3 separate regions of the Homo sapiens genome follow, and regions 1 and 2 are each linked to region 3. The links are contacts of gene promoters, found by promoter capture Hi-C in human tissues and cell types (Jung and others, 2019). All regions are on one chromosome and are shown on one strand. Each heading gives the region's core, a stretch centred on a gene start or on the middle of the fragment in contact. The rest is flanking DNA. Distances are from core to core; before and after follow the strand shown. Region 1 has its middle 110 kb from the start of LINC02503. Region 2 has its middle 270 kb from the start of CXXC4. Region 3 holds the start of CXXC4 (CXXC finger protein 4).

The links. The method cuts DNA at HindIII sites, captures the fragments that hold promoters and counts their contacts. A contact is called where the count stands out against the background at its distance.
Region 1: a fragment that was not itself captured here is called in contact with the fragment with the promoter of CXXC4 in region 3 in 1 of the 25 tissues and cell types used here (hippocampus).
Region 2: a fragment that was not itself captured here is called in contact with the fragment with the promoter of CXXC4 in region 3 in 1 of the 25 tissues and cell types used here (mesenchymal stem cells).

The regions. Positions count from the first base shown.
Region 1 is chr4:104,066,340-104,070,014 of GRCh38, forward strand. No RefSeq gene overlaps it. Among named protein-coding and RNA genes, the nearest start is that of LINC02503, 110 kb to the left of the region's middle. The HindIII fragment of the contact is 8,203 bases long and covers 1-3,675 here.
Region 2 is chr4:104,764,560-104,768,260 of GRCh38, forward strand. No RefSeq gene overlaps it. Among named protein-coding and RNA genes, the nearest start is that of CXXC4, 270 kb to the left of the region's middle. The HindIII fragment of the contact is 3,923 bases long and covers 270-3,701 here.
Region 3 is chr4:104,493,519-104,497,162 of GRCh38, forward strand. It overlaps CXXC4 (CXXC finger protein 4), which reads right to left and starts at 1,376. Exons shown (of 3, transcript NM_025212.4): 1 at 1,183-1,376. All of the region lies in intron 1 of CXXC4-AS1 (CXXC4 antisense RNA 1), which reads left to right. The HindIII fragment of the contact is 3,942 bases long and covers 293-3,644 here.

The DNA of each region.
Region 1 (3,675 bases), core at 1,014-3,513, 430 kb before region 3:
CTAAAAACTTTATGAGAAATCACATTCTTCACAGTACTAAAATTAAGTTACATTAGGATGTAGTGTAAGCCACAGTAACAAGGTATCCTAAAGTATATTGACTGAAACAAGATTAATATTAATTTCTTTGTGATGAAACTCTTCTGGTGGTTTGGGATTGGTAAGGTGCCCTAGAGGTGTCAGGGACACAAAACACTTTCATTCCTTTTGTTCTGCCATCTCTAGACTCTTACCTCATCAGCTTGCTTGAAATCAGTTAGTATCTACCTTACAGCCTGTGGGAAGGGTAAAACAAGAAGAAAATACTTTGTATGCTCCTTTTCTTTTGAGGGCAAGCAAGTTTCAGAGGTTGCACACTTCAACTTTTCTCATATACCATTGGCCAGAATTGGTCATGTGACCCTACCCGGCAAGAAAAGAGACTGGAAATGTCATGGTTCGTTGCCATAGCTTCAATTATAATGCCTATTTTTTTAATAGAAGAAAAGGGTAATGAATATTGATAAGGCAATTAGCAATCTCTGCCACAAAAGTGTACAAAGATTGAAAGTATACAAATATTAATCAGACACAGCATCTCTAAGGTTTTCTTTTAATAACTGCATTTTTCTAATTTATTTTATAAATTTATGGTTTTTCAATTTATAATTTGTTTTTAATCAATCATATCAACTTCATTTTTTTAATACTAAGAATTTGAAACTGATTTAGGGACCAAATATTGGGGAATTTATTATAATCAACTATATGTTCAATAATAATAACAGAGAAAAAACTACATCTCATCAAATGTACTCCTAAAACCAGACAGGTTTTAGAGTACTAGTTCTTTGAAAATTTCATTATGCTAAGTGAAATAATCCAGGATCAGAAGGACAAATACCATATGATTAAGTGGAATCTAAAACTATCGAAGTCAGAAACAGAAAGTAGATTTGTGGTTACCAGAGGCTAAGAGGTGGGGAAATGGCAAGATATTGGTATAAAGTTTCAGTTAGGAGGGAAAAGTTTTTTGACATCTATTCCACAGCTTGGTGATCACAGTTAATAATAATGATTGGCAAACTTCAAATGGCTAAAAGATAAATTTTTCTCACCACAAAAATAACAAGTATGTGAGGTCATATGTTAATTCACTTGATTTATTCCTTCCACACTGTATACATATATCATAACATCACCATGTACCCCAATATATATACAATTATAATTTTTCAGTTTATAATAAAAAAATGCTGAAACACTGAACAATACCAATGCTGTATAAACTACTGCAAAGCATAAAAAAAGAAGAAAAGCTCAAATAGATTCCAGGTTTGTTTTACAAAACAAGTTCCTTATACATGTCTTGTTCCTTTTGCATACTCCTATCCTTCTTGTCTTAAACACAGTTGATAGAAAAACTTCAATGATCTGAATGCCATTGATCATGTTAATTTTTTTGTTCATAATTTAAAAATTATTTTCAAAATAAAAAAGGAGAGGGATGCTATATTTTTTCTATCCAAATGTTTTTTTATTGATAAATAATAGTTATACATACTTATAGGGCATATGTAATATTTTGATATACTCATACAATGTATAATGATTAAATCAAGGAAATTCAGATATTTATCACCTGAAACATTTATCATTTATTTGTGCTAGGAACATTTCAAAGTTTCTCTTCTAATTATTTTGAAATATACAATGTATAATAATTAACAGTAGTTGCTCAACAGTGCTATCAAATGCTAGGACGTATTTCTTCTACGTAACTATACCCTCTTATTTACTGAGAAACAACCCCAACCTAGTGATTCAGAATCAAACAACTATTTACAGTCCAAAAATTACCATTTAGGTTTTATACAGTCAAAATTAATTTCCAAGGAGTTAAGATGTTTATCATTTTATCAATGACAAACATAATTAATATTAAAACAAAACACAAGAGAAAATCTATAGTAGAAGTAGACTGTTCCTACTTGCAAGATTTCTAATAAGTTTATATTCTTATACAATGTCCCATTGAAACATCTATGTTTAAACCTGGTTTCTACTCACTACTCTGCTAAGAGCCACAATGTTCAAATAGCCCTGATCTACCTTATCCTGATTAGCAGAACATTCTGTCCACTTTATCAAACACCAACTGACTAGGCCATATCTCTGAAAAAAATACTTCTTTTAGTTATTAGATTTTTTTCAGTCTACCTTCTTTGAGCTTAATTTGGGGATTAGAGTGTTCTGTCTGGTAATCATGAGAATTAATATTCTCTTATAAGTTAGAATAAATCTCCCATTTGTCTTACTTTGACTCAGGGTGTTCTTCTATCTGAAATCATGTTAGTGTTCCTCAGCTAATGTTACTTCTTTTATAGTTTATTGGAGGACTTATAATTTCTTTTTAAAGAAATAAAATGAATGAATTATTAACTCATACAAGCTTAATGCAACATTTTACAAGTAGAAAATCCATTTAAAATTAATGTATATTTATTTTATATTTCTTATAACTTCTTTTTTTATTATACTTTAAGGTCTGGGATACATGTGCTGAATGTGTAGGTTTGTTACACAGGTATACATGTGCCATGGTGGTCTGCTGCACCCATCAACTTGTCATCTACATTAGGTATTTCTCCTAATGCTATCCTTTCCCTTGACCCCCACCCCCTGACAGGCCCCAATGTGTGATATTCCCCTCCCTGTGCCTGTAGGTTCTCTTTGTTCAACTCGCACTTATGAGTGAGAACATGCAGTGTTTGGTTTTCTGTTCCTGTGTTAGTTTGCTGAGAATGATGGTTTCCAGCGTCACCTATGTCCCTGTAAAGCACATGAACTCATCCATTTTTATGGCTGCATAGTATTCCATGGTGTATATGTGCCACATATTCTTTATCCAGTGTATCATTGATGGGCATTTGGGTTGGTTCCAAGTCTTTGCTATTGTGAATAGTGCTACAATAAACATACGTGTGCATGTGTCTTTATAGTAGCATGATTTATAATCCTTTGGGTATACCAAGTAATGGGATTGCTGGGTCAAATGATATTTCTAGTTCTAGATCCTTGAGGACTTGCCACACTGTCTTCCACAATGGTTGAACTAATTTACACTCCCACCAACAGTGTAAAAGCATTACTGTTTCTCCACATCCTATCCAGCATCTGTTGTTTCCTGGCTTTTTAATGATCACCATTCTAACTGGCATGAGATGGTATCTCATTGTGGTTTTGATTTGCATTTTTCTAATGACCAGTGATGAGCTTTTTTTCATATGTTTGTGGGCCACATAAATATCTTCTTTTGAGAAGTGTCTGTTCATATCCTTTGCCCACTTTTTGATGGGGCTGTTTGTTTTCTTGTAAATTTGTTTAAGTTCCTTGTAGATTCTGCATATTAGCCCTTTGTCAGAAACAGATTGCAAAAATTTTCTCCCATTCTGTAGGTTGCCTATTCACTCTGGTGCTAGTTTCTTTTGCTGTGCAGAAGCTCTTTAGTTTAATTAGATCCCATTTGTCTATTTTGGCTTTTGTTGCCATCACTTTTGGTGTTTTAGTCATGAAGTCTTTGCCCATGCCTATGTCCTGAATGGTATTGTCCAGGGTTTCTTTCAGGGTTTTTATGGTTTCAGGTCTTACATTTAAGTCTTTCATCTATCTTGAAATTTTTGTATAAGGTGTCAG
Region 2 (3,701 bases), core at 981-3,480, 270 kb after region 3:
TTTTCTTTATCAGATTGGAAATGTCAAACTTCACAATCATAAAGTATTGATCGCTCAAAATCAGACATCTCTGTCTCCATGTCTCACAAGCATGAACATCTGCTCCATCTTTCACAATAAGACTCTTCCCCATAATCAGACACACTACTGTCTTTGAGATCGCAAGCTTAATTATACTGTTTTTAAACCTTCGTGATTGAGCACGTATGCAGCAACACCGCTCCCTCACTGTGGCTTTAATCTCGTCTTTCTATGTCTCTAAGTATAATTTAAATGTAAAATTCTTTCTTTACAATTTCAAATCACCATCGAGTCTTATCATTTTTCTTCTACTCTGTATTAATTCTACCTTTTGACCGCAAGTCAATGAAAGCTTCTAAAAATCATAAAAGTTTCTGTTATTTCCTAAACAGCAGAGACTTAACAGTTTTACCAATTTAAGAAATAGATGCCTTTCTGAAAATTTGGAGAAAAATTCTACCCTACTTCTCTTCTTTGAGAAGAGAACATTTTATTATCTATTCTGTTTTGCAAAAAGGAATGTTATTTGATGCTCTGCCATATTCTTTTGCATTTTAATTAAAATAATCACTCATTTTTATCAATTACATTAGTATCTCCTTCTTTTAATGCCCTACATATACATAAATATGTGCAGCAAATTTGGTGCTGCAATAGGCACTTCCTCTGTCTGAAGATTGGCTACCCTATAATGCCAAACACTATGAAAAGAAAAGAGTACAAGTCACTTGAGTATTATAGGTAAAATGCATTAATTCATCCTGGTGCATGGACATATCATAGCTTGGGTATATCATACTCAATGAAAACATTTTGTGGTCTAAAGAACTAGGCCACTCAACTTTCAACTTTTTTTTAAACTACAATATATTTGAATCCAATTCTATAGTTGAAATTTAGGTATGAGATGATGCTTAGGAATGGGGTCAGGAATGGGCTACCATTAGGGTCTGAAATGGAGAGAGATGCAAGAAGAGGCTTAGCAAAGAAGGAGAGAATGGAGTAAAATCTGAAATGGTATAAAATAAGGAGTGCCTCTGCACACATTACTCAGTAACAATAGGTTATATTTATATTTTAACATGGCTGTTTGGGGCATCAAACAAAAATAGCAAAAACAGAAGAAAAGAAAACAAAACTCTAAACCAAGATTTCTTTGTTCTAGTGTTGAGCAACACTTGTAGCTTCTACCCATCAGATGCCAGTTGCCCCCTTCAGGAGTTGTAATAACTTAAGGCACTGTCAAATGTCCCCTGAAAAAATAAAACTGCTTCCAGTTAAGAACCACTGTTCTGAAAATTATCTTAAAATATCTCACTTTACTCTTGACCTCATAAACATCCTTAATACTACCTGCCATATGATTTTTCAGGGTAAAGGCAAGGGTCCCTAATAATGGTTCCCTAGAGTGTAGCCACATGATCAGTAAGGGAGGTTGATGACCCAGTCCTATCATCAATGTATAAAGACCCAGTCACAGCTCTGTTCTCCACAAGAGAATCTAGACCATAAGCAAGCAAAACATAGCTAAGTGTCCCCTCCTTTCACGTTTGGATCACTCTTGCTACAGGCACAGGGTACTCTTTGTCTACAGGACCACTCCTTTCCACATTCAGTACGCTGTTGACGAAAATCTCAAGAATGGTTAAGGCTGGACCCCGGAAGAGGGAAGCCAGTTTTTTGAAACATTCTCACAGAGCCTGCCAGTTTTTCTCACTGAACAAGAGTCTCATCTCTGGATAAAAATAATAGTATTTCCATATTAGCAAATTCAAAGGTCCATAATAAGGTTTTCTTTCATTGAAAAATCCCCACCATGATCTCCTTTGCATTCCAATAAATCTTAAAAATATGCCCTTTGTCTAAAGGATCTAGATGGAATTGTATATAGTATGTACCTATCTAATAGAATTTTTATTTAGAGTTTTATAGACAGTAGATTTGTTTTCAAATTGGAAAAGTATATTACCACTTAGCTTATAGAAATAATTATTACACATTTTACATAATTTAACATTTCGGCCTTTCTCTTTCTGATCTCATAAGCTTTTCTAAATTTCTTAGGAAATGAAAGATTCTAAAAATCATAAAAGTTTCTGTTATTTCCTAAACAGCATGCAAAGCTGTTGCATAATCTCAGAAAAAGATAGACAGGACAGACCTTACAAATATATTTAAATCTCTGAAATGTAGACAAGAATATGTAAATTGAAAGTAAATTTATTTTAGTGAACTGGCAAGAAGGGAAAAAATATAGGGCCATATGTTACCATCAGTTTTGCTATGCATATTTGGGGGGGGAGCTTCTTAAGCCAGACATTTTCAGGCCATAAAATGTCTTCCATAGGTAACCACAAGCTGGCAAAAGTAGTAGGCAAGTGTTGGAAGTTAGAAATGAGGACGATGCTTTTATTGGTGGCTGAGCAGAGTTGGGAACTTGGTGTAAGAGGAATGGAGATGAGGGTGTGATTTTACTTATGTGAAAATGGTAAGGAAACTCGGTGCTTGAAGCAGAAGTTCTTTGTTTCACCTGCTTTCCTCTTATTGGTCTCCCTCCATCATGAGGAGCAATTTTGAAAATAACCTACAATGTACAGAATGTGTACTCCAGTTCGCCTACCTGTTCTAGGCGCCAAAGTCATTTCTTCTTTCATAGCTTGTCTCAATAAAAAATATCACAGCCCACAGGATGTTCAGTTTGAATTCTAGTCATGGATGCAAATAATAAATTACATGAATTTTTAATATTAATAATAAGCTGTATGAAAGCAAGACTTTGTTCTGACTTTGATCCACAGTGTTGTGAACAATGCCAGGTATTCAATAAGTACTCAACAATTTTTTAAATACCTGAAAAAAATTGATATAATAAACAACAATTATGCTACAAATGGTGCCAGGAGCTTTACATATTTTAAATTAATAATTATTCTGCTTTGTGTGTATATGCATGTGTTTGTATATGATTATATTTGGACACCACCCATTTTCATGAAAGATTAAAGATTTCTCAACGACATAATTTTATATGTGTGTACTCCTTTAGCATTTATAAAGCATCTTCCCATAGCTTGTAATAAAGGAATTCACAAGACAGAATTCCAATTATTTCAAAAGACAGAATTATATTTGCTAACCAAGATCATGGACAGATAACCGACTCTCCAACTTCTATTTCTTACTCTATGAAGTGATAATAACACAACCCTTATAAGGTTCCTGTGAGGATTAAATGGACTGAAGTATAGAAATTGCTCAACAAAATGTAAAGTACTGAATAAACATAAGTAGCATTACTGTAGTTATTCTCAAAGAAAAAAGACCATAAGTAAATAGGTAGATCATTTGCATATTAACAATTACATGACCTCTTGAACTCCAAGATGTTGGGAGTCTCAAGGAACAAATGCAGGTAACCAAGAATCCTGAGCTCCAAGTCTAATCTTAGCACTGATATGCTATGATATTTGTCAGAATTCACAAGCTTTTTTGTACCTCAGTATCATCATCTGTATAAAAGGGTTCTCATAATTTCTCAGAGGTTCCTTTTGCTCCAATGTTTTATGATTCTACTACAAAAAAAAAAAAAATTAATGAGGCACCTGGAGCAGAATGTAAAGATGAATAACTCAACTTGGGGAAAGTTTTAATAAAAAGAAGGGAGTATAATTGGTCACTTC
Region 3 (3,644 bases), core at 126-2,625:
ATGAGGTGCTCTAAAAAGAGGGGTTTATGTAAACAAATCCCTATTAGGCAAAGTAAATCAAGATAAGGAACCTCACCCCAGGCTGGATTAGAAGCTTGCAGGCATCTTTCAATCACAGCAAGTCCCTAATCACTCAGGAACCACCTCTGTGGTTTCGCATTAGGGAAAACTGCTGCCTTCTCAGGTCTGAGGGCAATACAAAAGGTGCCCCCAAAATGCTCTTGGCTAAATATTCTTGATGCTTGGAAGGGGTGAGGGAAGACACAGCAAGAATATGCATATAGCTTCAGTTTCTGCGAATCACATTGTAACTGCAAGACCATAATAACTGCTACTCAGTAAAAACTAGTTATGTCAACCATGCATTAGATATCATCACATTGAGTGGAGGGAAAATTTTCAACCTTTTAGTCTTTTGACCTTGTTCCAAATAAATAAATAATTTAACGTCCCTTTTTTAGAGTCTTAGAGTGGTGTTTCCAAACACAAGCTTTCCTTGCTTTTCTGATTGCCATCACCATCCCTCTTCCTACCTCAAGGTTTAATACCACCAGAAACTGTAGAAAATGATTATGCCCAGTATCCAGGTCATTATTGTTTAATCAATGCATCTCTGGAGCATGAAAAAGGTATCTAAGCCACAGCTATTGTTTGGATTTTATTTAAAAACAAAATAAAACACACACAAATAACTATAGTTCTATGCCAAAGCTAAATTAGAGATCCATACTTCATGATCCTGTTTTGCCTTTAAACAATGTGACTTTACATGCCTAATACTGTATGTCTGGTCTACCAGAGACATAGAGATCAAAGGTCATATTTAACATTCAGGAGGAGGGGCGGGTGCAGACTAATTAATAAATTAATACAGCGACGCTTTTTCTTGCTGGAGTCCAGCATTAATAATCTACTTTCACAATCCCAACGGACAGCAAACATTTAAGAGAAAAAAAAGCCAGAGAAAGAGAAAGAACAATCACTTACCAGTCTCTTTTTATTTGGGGAGCCTTAGAATTTGCAGACGCTGCCAGTCTGCCTTTAATTAGTTGCACATCACCCCCTAACACAAAGAAACACAAATCCAGATGTGTCTTGGCAGCTCCCAATTACAACTTTAATACTTGTAAACAAACTGTTGGGGGGGGGGGGGTAAATAAATATGCGGATCAAAAAAAATACCTGTAAATGGCTTTTTTTTCTTGTTGCAGAGAGAAGGAGGAGGAGATGGTGTTAGTGGTGGGGGTGGAAGGAGGAGGAGGTGGGGGGAGAGGAAAGAGTCGAGTGTGAGTGTATGTGTGAGAGCGCGGGTCTGTTGTCGGTGGTCTCTCCTCTCCCAGCGCGTTGCTCTCCGTCCGTCTCCAGTCGCTGTGTGCGAGGGAGGGAGGGAGCCGGGGAGTCTCTCCTCTCTCTCTCCCCTCTCTCTCTCTCTCTCTCTTCCCCTCTCTCTCACCCTCCCCCCTTCTCTCTCTGTTTGTGTGTGTGCGAGTGTGCGGTTGCTGGGGGAGGGGAGCCACAGAGAAAGGCGAGGGAGGAGGTGTGGAGGCTGGGGGCGGGGGCGCGGGGGTGGGGGTGATTGGCGCCGAGGTGAGGAGGACGCAGGGACGTGGACACCTACTGATGATTGGCTGCAAATTACACGGGGAACAAGAGGCGCACGCGGGCCAGCGCTCCTTTTCACAAATCCTCTCCTCGGCAGAGGAGCCACGTTTTCCCTGCTCGCCTGCGGATCGCCCTCCCTCCTCGCGCCCGGCTCTCCGGCTCAGCCCAGCACACAGGGCTGTTGATTATTTTCTTTTGCTCTCGGAGATAATTGTTTGGAAGGGTTGGAAAGAGGGCGTTTCCGCCACTCTGCGTGTGGGGTGTGTGTGTGCGTGCGTGTGCGGGTGTGTGTGTAAATAAACTTGTCTGGGATTTCTGGCTGGGTTGAGAAGAGCAATACAAGAAACAGAGAAAAGGTCATGTTTGTTTGAAGAATGCTCTTAGTTCGTACCCAATGGCATGGTTTTAAATAAATTTCCTGGTGTACCCAGGAAGACTTTAAAAAAAAATACCATTTAGATCTTTAAAGTAAGGGAAAACGGACCGGTGTGGTTCTTCAGACCCTCGAAGTACTATTATGCCAGAATGTAAAAAATCGGTGATATGATGCTTGGCCAATTTCAAAATCCATCTCAATCTCTGTCTCTCTTCTCTACTCTTCTCTCTCTCCTCCCAAAATCCTCTTTTACTATTCCATCTGGTAGTTCCAAAGAATAAATCAGATTTTTAACTCACTGCCCTATTTTTTAATTTCAAACTTTACTTAAACAAAAACTTTTGTCTTTCAGTCTATTTTAGAATAGTATGTAATTAACATTTCACTTCTTGCCACTTGGGAAAACATAGTTTATGAATTGAAACATAAATATTGTACGGCACGTCAAATATAAATAAAACTCGTTCATAAATGCAGCTGTAAATTAACCTCTTCACTGCTGCCTCAAATAAAATATTTGTGGACACATGCTATCCTACTATTAAAGTATACTCTAGTGGAAATAGTTATAAGATACAGAATTATGAATACTTTTGAATAATTTTTTTTCTAAGAGCAAAACAGTGGCTAAGGTAAGTTATAGAGTAGGAAAGAAAAAACTTAAGATTATTTAAATTGGTGTTATCAAGCAGAGTACAAGTTTTGTATTAAAATTAAGTGTTTATTCTAGAGTAATGCAATATTAATTGTTCAGATAAGTGAGGAAAATATAATGTTTTGTTTCTTTAATAAGAAAAAAAAGCTGAAAAGACATTTTAAACCATTTTGTATTTGAATTTTCAAAAGATAGACTTTGACCATATCAAGACATTACCAACTATGGAGGATAAATTGTTGATAACAAGTTTGAAACTGTGGTGTGTGTATGCCTAAATGAAGGTGTTATTTCAAGAGTGGGCTACTATTGCAATAGGAAACAGGTGTATTTTGTGACTCATTGATTAATATACATGTTTTGTAATTTTTTTAAAGCATAAGCTGTTTGATTATTACCGGTTATTTGACATCTATAGACAAAATAACTGGAGGGTTAATAATTATTCAAGTTAATAAGATATTTTTATTCTTGTGCTAATGCATTATAAAAGCAAAAAAGGAAATTTTCCATTTGATTATTTTGTTTTAGCTCAGCTTCATAGGAAATTTATCAGGAAAATGTGGTCACTTTTTAATGAGTGAAAACATGCTAGAAAAATGATAGATTCTTAAACATCTTTTCACAATATTTAAAATATCAGTCCAATGTTAGAAATTTTGAAGTTTATAAATAAGCAATGTTTTTAATCAAATAAAGACATCATGCTTTCTTTTGCCAAATTTTCTTTTCTGGAAATTTTCCTTTTTGGAAATTCCTTTTCTCATGCTTTCCTTTTTGGGACTCTTCAAGCTTACTTTCAAAATGAAATCTTAAACACGTGAGAGAAAATATGTTCTAAATTCCAATGAATTTTACTTTCCAGCTAATGAAGGAAAACTACAGAATTCTTGGTCTTAATAATTAATAATAATAGCCCCTATTAATGACCCATTAGTGTCAGATCCTGCACTAAGTAATTTGCAGATATTCTATTTTGTCCTTGCAATAATCCTGTGAAGTGGCTATTAT